Regions from separate parts of the Homo sapiens genome. Here all the other regions are linked to region 3. Evidence: promoter capture Hi-C in human tissues and cell types (Jung and others, 2019). All regions are on one chromosome and are shown on one strand. The core of a region is centred on a gene start or on the middle of the fragment in contact, and the rest is flanking DNA. Distances in the headings are between cores, read along the strand shown.

Region 1 (3,074 bases), core at 226-2,725, 140 kb before region 3:
ACCATATTGGCCAGGCTGGTCTCGAACTCCTGACCTCAGGTGATCCGTCTGCCTCAGCCTCCCAAAGTGCTGGGATTATAGGCGTGAGCCACTGTACCTGGCCAACGTGACACATCTTAAATCCAACGCTTTCGAATTCTGCAACATACCTAGTCCCAGGGTCTCAGCAAAGGGACTGTGGCCCGTATCTGGTTCTCCCAGCTAAATTCAAAGCTCTGCAACTAATCAGGGTTTATTTTGTTCTCAGAACAGCTCCTCTAGACACCGAGGAGGACAGCTGTTTCTGGGAAGGAGGGTTTGGGAGGAAATGCATACGCTGAGGGTGTCCTTGGCCTTCAGAGACCACCGCAGGGCAGGAACACCCAGACACTGTGGTGTGGTGAAGCTGACCCCAGGAGACAAGCTTTGAGGGACCTGCCTGCATACCTCCGACAGGCCATTCCTGGGGTTCACCAGGGACTGCTGGCAGTGCATCCGGTGATGCCAGGTTTACATGGAGGACCACGTTCTTTTCAGGCTGCTGTGAGTGATAAGCCCTGTGTTCTAAGTCAGGCCCCCAGACACTGAATCTTCTGAACCTCATAAGGGGAACTGGATGAAAGGGATTTCAGTTAGTATGTATCAGTCACCAGAAACAGTTTTTCAATCAACAAAAACAGAAAGGCACCGGGACAGACCCTGAGAACATAGCGCATCCTAGACCCTGCGCTGGCCAGGAATGGTCATTGTTCAGATGACACAGGTGGGTGTGTGGGGCCCATGAGTGCCGGCCATGAGGGACAGGCCCTGGGTCCCTTTCATGAGTGAGGACAGTGTACGGGGTGGGGCGGCATGCAGCCTGGCTGTGGGTGACTGGTGTGCCCTGGGGAGGCCCCTGTCTCTTAGAGCTTCCCACTGCCCATCTGTAAAACGGGAGAAAAGGGTCTGCCCGAGGCTGTGCAGGGCTCTGGGGAACAACTCGAGGAAGCCCCGAGCTGCCTGCCCAGGCTCCATCAATACCCACCAGACTTAATCTTTGCCGTTGTTGTTGTTGTAGAGACAGGGTCTTACTGTGTTGCCCAGGTTGGTCTCATACTCTTGGGCTCAAGCGATTCCAAAGTACTGGGATTATAAGTGTGAGCCACCATGTCCTGCCCCACCAGGCTTTAAATGCTCTGTGGAAGTTTGGTCTTTACCATAAGGCCTGCTGCAGACTTCAGCCAGAGGGAAATGTGAGAACTGTGGGTTAAATCGAGAAGCACGCCAGGACCCCGGCTCATGGGATTGCCCTTCAAGAGGCGGCCCGTGGGTACCACAGGGTGCAGGATCAGGACCATGAACAGTTTCCTCTGGGCTGAGACTTGGCCATTCCTAGTCACGGGATGAGGACAGATGGAGCAGAATCGAAATCCTGTTTACTTTCCTGCCACTGGCTGGTTTGTCTCCGAGACTAGAAGGCTGAGGTGTTCCTGACATCAAGGCAGGTGGCCCACAGGTGGGACCCACAGCACTCACTGACTGCACTTCCTGATATAAAAAGATACCTGGACACTCCAGGTGACACTCAGGAACAGGCATCCCTCAGCTCCAGGCTTGTGCATTTCAGGGAGGAGCAGTTGCTGTCTCATCCCTGTCCTACTGTACCCCAAAACATACCCTGTACCCAGATGTTTGAGCCAGTCAGTGGGAAGAAAGCATTAGCTTCCAAGGAAATGCCCAGGTGGCCGGTGCTCTGAGCCCTGCAGCGGCCTTGGGACTCAGCTTGGAGGAATCAAAAGTCCTGAGTGGCCAGGCACAGTGGCGCCTGCCTGTAACCCCACACCTTGGGAGGCTGAGGCAGGAGGATCACTTGAGCTCAGGAGTTCAAGGCCAACCTGGGCAACATACTAAGACCTCATCCCCCCAAAAATAGTCCTCAGCGACCCCTAGACATGGTGGTGTGTGCGGAAGCTGAGGTGTGAGGATCACTTGAGCCCAGGAGTTTGAAGCCAATCTGGGCAACACAGTGAGACTCTGTGTCTTAATTAAAAAAAAAAAAAAATAAAAAATAAAAAATTAAAAATGTCGCCGGGCATGGTGGCACATGGCTGTAATCCCAGCACTTTGGGAGGCCGAGGCGGGCGGATCACCTGAGGTCAAGAGTTCAAGACCAGCCTGACCAACAGGGTGAAACCCTGTCTCTACTAAATACAAAAAATTAGCCGGGTGTGGTGGCAGATGCCTGTAATCCCAACTACTCGGGAGGCTGAGGCAGGAAAATTGCTTGAACCTGGGAGGCAGTGAGCCGAGATTGCGCCATTGCACTCCAGCCTAGGCAACAAGAGTGAAACTCTGTCTAAAAAAAAAAAAAAAAGAGTCCTGAGCATGGCCCTCAAAGCCTAGGCAGATGGGGGTAGGGAGGTGGGGCGACACCAGCGGTTGAAATGGACAGACATCTCAGCTGCACTGGCAACAGTTGGTATCAACTCTTGTTTTCCCTCCTGAAACTGCTGAATTTGAGACTAACAGACTCATGCAGTAACATCCACACAGGGGCAGATGGAATTATGAAGAGGCGTGCCCAGGCTGAACACCCACACTCTCAAAAATTGGTTTCTCGTTCAGCCCCAGCAGCTCACTGGTAGGAAGGTCAAGAATGACAGCTTCCTGAGACTACAGTTGATTAAAGTACTTTTTTTTTTTAGACAGGGTCTCACTCTGTCACCCAGGCTGGAGTGCAGTGGCGCAATGTCATCTCACTGCAACCTCTGCCTCCTGGGTTCAAGTGATACTCCTGCCTCAGCCTCCTGAGTAACTGGGATTACAGGCGCATGCCACCACGCCCAGCTAATTTTTGTATTTTTAGTAGAGACGGGGTTTCATCATGTTGGTCAGGCTGGTCTCGAACTCCTGATCTCAGGTGGTCCAACTGCCTCGGCCTCCCAAAGTGCTGGGATTACAGGCGTGAGCCACCGCACCCAGCCTTTAAAAAGTACTTTTTAAAATAGTTTTTTATTATTACTAAATTCCAGATGTTGCATTGCTAAACATCCGCTGTGGGCAGTGGGGAGCCCCCAAAGGCTGCTTCCTGGGGTCAGGGTCAGGGGTGAGCAAGG
Region 2 (3,310 bases), core at 68-2,567, 150 kb after region 3:
TGATTTGAAGGTAATTTTCAAAAGGATTTATAATTCTGTATTTTTTTCTGTTTTTCTTTAAAACTTGTTTTAAAAACACATAACATAAAATTTAATGTCTTAAATCTATTGAAGTGTACATTTCAGGGCCAAGTGTGGTTGTGGCTCTCATCTGTAATCCCAGGATTTTGCGAGGCCAAGGCAGGAGGATCCCTGGAGCCTAAAAGTTTGAGAGCCGCCTGGGGAATATATGGAGACCTCTCTCTATAAAAAAAATTTAATAATAGCCAAGCATGGTGGTGTGCACCTGTGGTCCCAGCTACTTGGGAGATTGAGAGGGATTCAAAATTGTGCCACTACATTGCAGGTTGGGGGACAGAGTGAGACCCTGTCTCAAAAAAAAGTTGTTCATTTCAGGCATGTTAAGTATATTCACACTGTTATGCAAAAGACTTCTAGAAACTTTACATCTTATAAAGCTAAAACTTAATTCCCATTAAGTAACAACTGCTCATTTTACCCTCTCTCCAGCCCTGACAGACAAACCTTCAACTTTCTGTTTTATGATTTTTGACTACTTATGATACCTCATATAGCTGGGTGTGGTGGCTTACACCTGTAATCCCATCACTTTGGGAGGCTGAGGCAGGCAGATCACCTGAGATCGGGAGTTTGAGACCAGCCTGACCAACATGGAAAAACCCTGTCTGTACTAAAATACAAAAAAATTAGCCAGGCATGGTGGCGCATGCCTATAATCCCAGCTCCTCGGGAGGCTGAGATAGGAAAATCGCTTGAACCTGGGAGGTGGAGGTTGCAGTGAGCCAAGATCGGGCCATTGCACTCCAGCCTGGTCAACAAGAGTGAAACTCCATCTCAAAAAAAAAAAAAAAAAAGATACCTCATATAAGTGGAATCATATAGTATCCATAATTTTGTTACTGGTTTAATTCAGGTGACATAATATTCTCAATCTTCATCTTAAAATGTGACAAGATGGTTATTTTTAAGGTGGAATAATATTCCATCATATGTATATGTTACATTTTTTGATATGTTTATAAATCAAGGGACATCTGGGTTGCTTCAGCCTTTTGACTTTTGTGAATACTGGTACAATAAACATATATTTTCAAATATGTCTTCCAGGTCCTGTGTTACATATTTTGTTTCTTTTGTTGTTTGTTATTTTTATTTTTATTTTTTTTTTGAGATCGAGTCTCCCGCTGTCACCCAGGCTGGAGTGTAGTCGTGTGATCTCAGCTCACTGCAACCTCTGCCTTTGGGGTTCAAGCGATTCTCCTACCTCAGCCTCCCAAGTTCCTGGGATTACAGGTGCACGTAACATCACCCATCTAGTTTTTGTATTTTTAGTAGACATGGTGTTTCACCATGGTGGCCAGGCTGGTTTTGAACTTCTGACCTCAGGTGATCTGCCCACCTTGGCCTCCCAGTGTGCTATGATTACAGGCTTGAGCCACTACACTTCGCCTGTGTTATGTATTTTAGATATAGATTTATAAATAAGGAACATTTCTAACATTTTAAAATAATGGCTGCATCATTATTTTCCACCAGCAGTCAACATGGGTTTCATTTTTATTGCATCATCAACAGATTTGGTGTATCAAAAAAAAATTATAGTGGCCATTCTAATGGGTATGAGGTGATTTTGTTTGTTATGTTTCTTTTTTCATTTCTCTACAAATTAGTAATTTTGTGTGTGCTTTCAAATGCATTTTCCAATTTTGTGTATTTTTTTGAGAAAAATTTGTCCATTTCTAAATCAAGTTATTCAAATTTACTGTTAGTTTTAAGAGTCATTTATATATTTTGAATATTAACTCTTTTAACAAGTAATATGTAAATGTTTTCAACTATTTTCTAAGGGACGTTGTCACTCCTGAAATTTTTTTCTTTCAGAAATTTTGAAGTATAGTGTAGTTAAACTTTTTTGTTCTTTTATTTGTTGCTCATACATTTAATGTCGTACCTAAAAAAATGGTGCCAAGACCAATGTCATGTCTTTTTTTTGTATTCTTTCTTTCTTTCTTTCTTTCTTTCTTTCTTTCTTTCTTTCTTTCTTTCTTTCTTTCTTTCTTTCTTTCTTTCTCTTTCTTTTCTTTCTTTCTTTCTTTCTTTCTTTCTTTCTTTCTTTCTTTCTTTCTTTCTTTCTTCCTTTCTTTTCTTTCTTTTCTTTCTTTTCTTTCTTTTCTTTCTTTCTTTTCTTAGATGGAGTCTTGCTCTGTCCCCCAGGCTGGAGTTCAGTAGCGCAATCTCAGCTCACTGCAAGCTCTGCCTTCTGGGTTCACGCCATTCTCCTGCCTCAGCCTCCCAAGTAGCTGGGACTATGGGCGCCCGCCACCATGCCCGGCTAAGTTTTTTGTATTTTTAATAGAGACGGGGTTTCACCATGTTAGCCAGGATGGTCTCGATCTCCTGACCTCATGATCCGTCCGCCTCGGCCTCCCAAAGTGCTGGGATTACAGGCATCAGCCACCGTGCCCGGCTTGTTTTGTATTTTTTCTAAAATATTTGTTAGTTTATTTTGTCTAAGTATTTTATTTAAAATGTATTTTTGTATCATTCAAGGAAATAATCCAACTTTATTTTATCAGTGTTGATACTGTAGCTTTTAACTGTTGTATTGACATCTTTGAACAATGAAATTTTTTGACCCCTGAGCAAGAATGTTGAAGTGTGTTTTATATTCACATGCTTTTGAATTTGCCATTTGACTTTTGCTTTTAATTCCTAATTTCATTCAGTTTTTGTTAGAAAACACACAGTGTATAATTTTAGTCTTTTAAAATTGTTTTGTTGTTGTTGTTTTGAGACAAGATCTTACCGTCATCCAGGCTGGAGTGCAGTAGCATAATTTTGGCTCACTGTAGCCTCAGTCTCCTGGGCTCAAGTGATTCTTTCACATCAGTTTCCTGAGTAGCTAGGATTACAGACATGCACTACCATGTCTGGCTAATTGTGTGCTTGTTTGTAGTGTTAGGATGTCAATGTGTTGCCCAGGCTGGTTTCAAACTTTTGGCCCCAGGGGATCCTGTTTTCTTGGTCTCCTAAAATGTTAGGATTATAGGCAAGAGCCACTGTTCCCAGTATTTTAAAATTTAATAAAACTTGCTCTGTGTCCTAACAGAATACACCAGATGCAAATAAGAATATTGTGTATTATCTTGGTTTTGACTGGAGAGTTTTGCATGTGTCTGTGAAGCCTAGTTGGTCTATAATATGGGTTGGATATTCATGTTGTCCAAACCTCATGCTGCAATATAAATCCTCAATGTTGGTTATGGGACCTGGTGGGACACGTTTGGAT
Region 3 (3,526 bases), core at 295-2,794:
TCCATCTCAAAAAAAAGAAAAAAAACAACAACAAAACTACCCACAATGACTCTAGACTTAGGAACCTTCCACTGGTTAATTGCTCAGAGAAAAACACACTGACCTATTACAACCACACGAGGAAAGAAAAAATCACAACATACACTTACAATCAGAATGTATCAAAGTGGTGTGTGTCATAAACATCACTCTCACAAACACCTCAAAGCTTACCACTTAGCCGGGCGCGGTGGCTCACGCCTGTAATCCCAGCACTTTGGGAGGCCAAGGCGGGCAGATCACAAGGTCAGGAGATCGAGACCATCCTGGCTAACACGGTGAAACCCCGTCTCTACTAAAAATACAAAAAAATTAGCTGGGCGTGGTGGCGGGCGCCTGTAGTCCCAGCTACTGGGAAGGCTGAGGCAGAATGGCTTGAACCTGGGAGGCGGAGCTTGCAGTGAGCTGGAGATCGCGCCACTGCACTCCATCCCGGGCGACAGAGCGAGACTCCGTCACACACAAAAAAAAATGCTTACCACTTATATACGGAACAAATGACATACAGAGATTTTGCATCATCATGGCACTCCAACATAGGCGAAATCTCTTGGGTAGAAACCACACAGATAAACACACACAAACAAGAAAATTTAAAAGAACCTGAACAAGCTCACAATTAATTCCATCCAGAAACCAAAGAAACTAAAAATCGCACACATTCACGCAAGGGAACAAAATTACCCAGAGCGAAGGGAAACTGGAATTAAGGGTGGCTAGAATTAATATTTGATCAAGGAGTCCAAAGGGAAGAAACACAAACTTTCTGATCAGTTAAGATAAGGAGTCCCCTTCCCCGCAGTTCGAAAAGAAAGCCCACATTCAGAAGGTCAAAAACACCCCCAGACTTGAGTGCTGGGAGCACTAGAGGGGGTCAGTCCCTGGTGATGAGGGCAGGGGCGTTTGAACAGCCACAGGAACCTGACCCCGGCAGCAAGGACCTAGCCAGGCTTCGGTTCTCACAAGTGAGGAAACGCACCCGTGGATTCATCGTAAGGTTTCCAACCAAGTGGTTTCTTAAACGCACAAACCCCACAGACCGAGATGGGATCTCCCCAGGACCCTCCCGCTGTCACCGAACAATCCGGGGAGACGCGGGGCTGCGGGCGCAGAGCTGCCCATAGAGGGCTCCAGGACCGGGGGCCGAGGTCGCCCCGCGGGGACGGGACAGGACGCTGGGGCTCCCGGCTGCGGGTCCAGCTCCCACAGAGAGGACCGAGGGCCGAACTGCGCCCGCGGTGGCCCCCGGGTCTGCAAACCCCGGAGTTGACTGCAAGGAGGTCCCCGGCCTCGGCCACAGACGGTTCCAACCAGAAACCTCCCCTCGGACACTGGCCCCGCACACTCACCATTTCCCAGCGTCCGGGAAGTCACGGTGTCCTCCCTACGGATCTGTCAGTACCTGCAGGTCACGGCGCGACAAAGGATGCGCTAGAGCCACCTTCGGCCTTCAGGAGCAGGTGAAACGCAATCTTCCCATGGGCCAGGAATGGCGACGTCCGCACTGCGCAGGCCCAGCGTGGCGCCGCTCACATCTTTTCAGCTGAGGTCCTGATTGGACAGATCCAATGGCCCCGCCTCTTTATCACTGAGTGACAGCGGAGCAGGAAGGGGCGTGGTTGAGCTGGCCTGGCTTCAGTCCGGCTTGTCCCCGCCAGGACGTTTGCGTTTAAACCGAATGTGTTCTTTGCCTCCCATCCATTTTAAGTGTTCTCTTCAGTACTGTTAAATACATTCACATTGTGAAGCCAATTTCCAGAATTGTTTTCATCTTGCAACACTGAAATCTGTCTCGTTGCACAACTCCCCGTGCACCTCCTTCCCTCAGGGTCTTTTGCAACCTCCATTCCATTGTCTGAGTTCGTGAATTTGACTGTGGGAATCTCATGTAAATGGCGTCATAAAGTATTTGTCCTTTCCTGACGTGCTTATTTCACTTAGCATAATGTCCTCGAGCTTCACCTTGTAGTATGTGTTAGGATTTATTTCTTCTTTTTTTTTTTTTTTTTGAGACGGAGTCTCGCTCTGTCGCCCAGGCTGGAGTGCAGTGGCGCATCTCGGCTCACTGCAAGCTCCGCCTCCCGGGTTCACGCCATTCTCCTGCCTCAGCCTCACGAGTAGCTGGGAATACAGGCGCCCGCCACCACGCCCGGCTAATTTTTTGTATTTTTTTAGTAGAGACGGGGTTTCACTGTGTTAGTCAGGATGGTCTCGATCTCCTGACCTCGTGATCTGCCGGCCTCGGCCTCCCAAAGCGTTGGGATTACAGGCGTGAGCCACCACGCCCGGCCTCTTCTTCTTTTTTTTTTTTTTAAGAGACAGGGTTTTGCTCTGTAGCCCAGGCTGAAGTGCAGTGGTGTGATCATTGCTCACTGCAGGCTTCAACTCCTGGATTCAAGCAAGCCTCCAACCTGAGCCTCCTAAGTATCTGGGACTACACGCACGCACTACCAGGCCTGGCTAATTGTTTTAATTTTAATTTTAATTTTTGGTAGAGATGTGTGTCTCCTTCTGTTGCCCAGGCTGGTCTCGAACTCCTAGGTTCAAGCAATCCTCCTGCCTCGACCTCTCAAAGTGCTGGGATTACAGGTGTGAGCCACTGCCACCGGCCAATTTACTTCTTTTTTTTTCCTTTGGAGATGGAGTCTCGCTCTCGTTGCCCAGGCTGGAGTGCAGTGGCGCTCAGCCACCGCAACCTCTGCCTCCCAGGTTCAAGTGATTCTCCTGACTCAGCTTCCTGAGTAGCCAGGATTACAGGCGCCCACCACTACTCCCGGCTGATTTTTGTATTGTAGTAGAGATAGAGTTTCACCATGTTGGCCAGGCTGGTCTCGAACGCCTGACCTCAGGTGATCTGCCCTCTTTGGCCTCCCAAAGTGCTGGGGGTGTGAGCCACCTCGCCTGTCCCCAATTTACTTCTTTTTAATGCTTTATTTAAACATTTTTTAAAGAGTTCCTAAATTAGTCAGTTCCTAAATCTACATACAATAGAATAGAATTGTATTCTATTGTATGTAGATATCAAATTTCTGGATTTTTCTGGATCTATTTATCTTTCTTTCTTTTTTTTTTTTTGAGACAGTCTTGCTCTGTTGCTCAGACTGGAGTGCAATGGCGTGATCTCGGCTCACTGCACTCCACCTCCTGGGCTCAAGCAATCCTTGTGCCTCAGCCTCCTGAGTAGCTGGGGTTACAGGCATGTGCCACTATGCCCAGCTAATTTTTGTAATTTTAGCAGAGATGGGGTTTCGCCATGTTGCCCAGGCTGGTCTCAAACTCCTGGGGTCAAGAGATCTGCCCACCTTGGCCTCCCAAAGTGCTGGGATTACCGCATGAGCCACCTCGCCCGGCCTTATTTATCCTTTCCTGGACACCTAGGTTGCTTCTGCCTTTGGCTATGGTAAATAATATGTCTATGAACATGGGTGAACAAATATGTGGGTTGCTGCTTTCAGTTTTTTAGGGTATGCTCAGAAGCAGACTTCCT
Region 4 (3,147 bases), core at 296-2,795, 220 kb before region 3:
CGACATCACGACCCGGGGACAACAAAGCTCCTTTGAGTTTGCCCATACTGGGGAGCTCAAAAGGTCCAGGCTCGAATCCTCCCGACTCCCTTTTGAGTCTTGGAGCAATAACCTCAACATGCGTGACTCTAAAATAGGGTACCCGCGCCTGCCTTCCCCGGATGGAGCGATCGCTTCTCCACTAGTCCGCAAATGGGGGCCACCGTTAGAGCCAGGTGCGAGGAACAGCGAGTTTATTGCAGGTTCCAACCGGGAACCTGGCACCCACGGCTGGTTGGGAAGGGACGCCCTCCGCGCAGAGGCTGAGAGTTCCGCGCAGGCGCAATGCTTCCGTCCCCTCTGGTCTCGCCCTCTCGGGGCCTGGTCGCAGGGAATCGCGGATGCGCATGCGCCTCCAGCTCCCGGGATCGCGGGGAACGTGGATTCCGAACAAGGGCAACTGCGGACTCCCCCGTGGGAAGAAAGGGAGGGAAGCGGAAGGGAAAAAGCGCATGTGCAGCAGCACGCGGCAGCTTCGCATATTCCCTCGAAGCGCGCCTCTTGCGCGTGCGCCGCCCTGGCCCAGTGCCCTTGGCTGCAGGAATGGCTGGAACCACCCGGCTTCTAGCCGGAGTCCCCGGCGCGCAGCCAGCAGTTGCGCGCTACCTGGCCCGCGGAGGGCCTGGCGGACGGGCTGAACTGCAGCAGCTCGGCGATCAGGGCCTTGCAGCGCTCGGACAGCTCGAGGCCTTCGGGATAGAGCACGCCGCGTTTCTGGCGCCGGGGCAGGCCGGCGATGTCCGAGTCGTCGAAGGGCATGCACCCGGTGACCATGACGTAGAGCACGACGCCCATGCTCCACACATCGTACTTCTTGGGGTCGTAGGGGATGCCCAGGAGCACCTCGGGTGACGCGTAGGCGGCTGAGCCGCAGTAGGTGGTGCTCAGGTCTGGGTAGCCATGGGCCTGGCGGCCGAAGCCGAAGTCGGTGAGCTTGACGCGGCGCTCGTCCGGGCTCAGCAGCACGTTTTCGCACTTGAGGTCGCGGTGCACCAGGTGATGATCGTGCAGGTAGCGCACGGCGCCGGCGATCTGCGCAAAGAGGTCGCGCGCCTGAACTCCGGGGATGCGCCCGTTGCGCTGCACGGCTTGCAGCAGGTCGGTGGCGGCCGCTTCCATCACGATGTACAGTTTCCCGTTGCACACCTCGATGAACTCGAAGACGTGCACGATGTGCGGGTGTCGCACGCCCCGCAGGATGGACAGCTCTCGCGGCAGGAACTTGTTGACGAAGTCCGGGGGCGCTCGCCGCCGGTCCACCACCTTGATGGCCACGGTACCCTTGTACTTCTTGGATGTGGCCACCTTCACCTTGGAGTAGCTGCCCTCTCCAATTGTGCGGCCCAGCTTATAACCGAGTTCGCTCAGAAGTTTGTCTCCCGACATGGTGGCGCCTAGGGCGCACGGGGGGCAGGAGGCGGCTGCTGTCGGGGGGCGGCCGGACTCCAATCTCGGGTCTAAGCCATGGCGCTTGGCACCTACACCCCCGCACCCCCATGTGCCCACTGCCAGACATTGGCCGCTGTTGTGCCTTTTATTGCCCCGTAACAATTTTTGCCTTGTGAAGTGACTGCGGGCGTCACTCCGCCTTAGGGTGGGGGTCCGGGACCCCGCCCCGGGGCCACCCTAGCCTCCCTGCTTTGTGACTCATAATCATCCTGAATGGTCAGTTTCCGATGAGAGGCCACTAGCAAGGGATACCCATCACCACCAGGGAGCAGAATCCGTTCCAGGGATTGGGGTGAGTCCGACTTCGAGCAGCAGCTGCCCCCCAACATCATGTACCCAGCCCGTGACTACGTGGAGCCCTGGGCTTCGCGTAGAGTCCCTAGACGGGGCGAAAACGGGAAAAGGGGCCTTAACTGGGGCACCTGGCTCCTTTGAGAGCTCGGAGTTTCTGACTGGCCTGCGCAACACCCCAGAGGCAAGGTGAACGCGAGGGCCTATAATGCAAGAACCAAGGCGAGTCACGCCCTGTCTGGGCAAAAGAGGAGTAAAGACCCCTCAGCTGCAGCCCGGCAGCGCATTCCTACCCAGGGTCCGCCGCCAGAGCTTTCCCGCGCGGTCGGATAGTTACACTACTGTCCGGGACTTCCTAGCCGTGCCGCGGACCATCTCAAGTGCTTCCGCCACACTCATCATGGCGGTGGCAGTAAGTCACTTCCGCCCGGGACCGGAAGTGTGGGATACTGCGAGTATGGCGGCGTCAAAGGTGAAGCAGGACATGCCTCCGCCGGGGGGCTATGGGCCCATCGACTACAAACGGAACTTGCCGCGTCGAGGACTGTCGGGTCAGTATCACTCTGCGCCGGGGTCTCAGAGTCTGGGCACTCGGGGCTCGGGGGCGGGGTTCCGGGGACACAGGCGGGCCTCAGTTTTCCCGGCGGTGTGACCGGAGGCGGAGCCCGGGGATCCATCATAGCTTCTGTAATAACGCTAAGTGCTGCAGTTTGTTGAGGTCTTTCCCAGCTCCTCTTCCTTCTCGTAACAGCCCAGGAAATCGGTCCCTCTAGTTATTTACGTTTTACAGTGGGTTAAACTGAGTCATAGCCTGTGCTCTGGCCCTCAGCCACCCTTGGATTTCTAAGATGGGGAAACTGAGGCCCAAAGAAGGCCGCGGCTCCCCAAGGCAAAGCTGAGGCCGCAACCCGGAACCTGGAGGGAATTTACAAGATGTTCTATGCAGTGGTTCCCTGCTGGCAGCCCCCGCCTGCATGGTGTCACAGGAATCCATATTCTTTAAATTTTCAATTTTTTTTTTTTGAGACGGAGTTTTGCTCTTGTTGCCCAGGCTGGAGTGCAATGGCGCCATCTCGGCTCACCGCAACCTCCGCCTCCTGGGTTCAAGCGATTCTCTTGCCTCAGCCTCCTGAGTAGCTGGGATTACAGGCATGTGCCACAACGCCTGGCTAACTTTGTGTTTTTAGTAGAGACGGGGTTTCTCCATGTTGGTCAGGGTGGTCTCGAACTCCCAACCTCGGATGATCCGCCCACCTCGGCCTCCCAAAGTGCTGGGATTACAGGCGTGAGCCACCATGCCCGGCGTAAAGTTTTCAAATGTTTAAGTAACACGTTAAATTTTGTTATCGGGCTCAGCACAGAAAATTG

The links. The method cuts DNA at HindIII sites, captures the fragments that hold promoters and counts their contacts. A contact is called where the count stands out against the background at its distance.
Region 1: a contact is called between a fragment that was not itself captured here and the fragment with the promoter of ZNF14 in region 3, in 1 of the 25 tissues and cell types used here (bladder).
Region 2: a contact is called between a fragment that was not itself captured here and the fragment with the promoter of ZNF14 in region 3, in 1 of the 25 tissues and cell types used here (IMR-90 fibroblasts).
Region 4: the fragment with the promoter of TSSK6 here is called in contact with the fragment with the promoter of ZNF14 in region 3 in 1 of the 25 tissues and cell types used here (adrenal gland).

Annotation. Positions count from the first base shown.
Region 1 is chr19:19,592,080-19,595,153 of GRCh38, forward strand. All of the region lies in intron 2 of PBX4 (PBX homeobox 4), which reads right to left. Among named protein-coding and RNA genes, the nearest start is that of PBX4, 25 kb to the right of the region's middle. RefSeq lists an enhancer at 537-1,161. The HindIII fragment of the contact is 8,394 bases long and covers 1-3,074 here.
Region 2 is chr19:19,883,201-19,886,510 of GRCh38, forward strand. The region is part of intron 3 of ZNF253 (zinc finger protein 253); the gene reads left to right. Among named protein-coding and RNA genes, the nearest start is that of ZNF93, 16 kb to the right of the region's middle. The HindIII fragment of the contact is 7,378 bases long and covers 1-3,310 here.
Region 3 is chr19:19,731,568-19,735,093 of GRCh38, forward strand. ZNF14 (zinc finger protein 14) reads right to left here and starts at 1,545. Exons shown (of 4, transcript NM_021030.3): 1 at 1,389-1,545. The coding sequence starts at 1,391. RefSeq lists a silencer at 1,051-1,200. The HindIII fragment of the contact is 10,257 bases long and covers 1-3,526 here.
Region 4 is chr19:19,514,003-19,517,149 of GRCh38, forward strand. It overlaps TSSK6 (testis specific serine kinase 6), which reads right to left and starts at 1,546. Exons shown (of 1, transcript NM_032037.4): 1 at 217-1,546. The coding sequence starts at 1,425. The coding sequence ends at 604. NDUFA13 (NADH:ubiquinone oxidoreductase subunit A13) reads left to right here and starts at 2,223. Exons shown (of 5, transcript NM_015965.7): 1 at 2,223-2,330. The coding sequence starts at 2,237. RefSeq lists a silencer at 1,792-1,911 and an enhancer at 2,122-2,401. The HindIII fragment of the contact is 21,153 bases long and covers 1-3,147 here.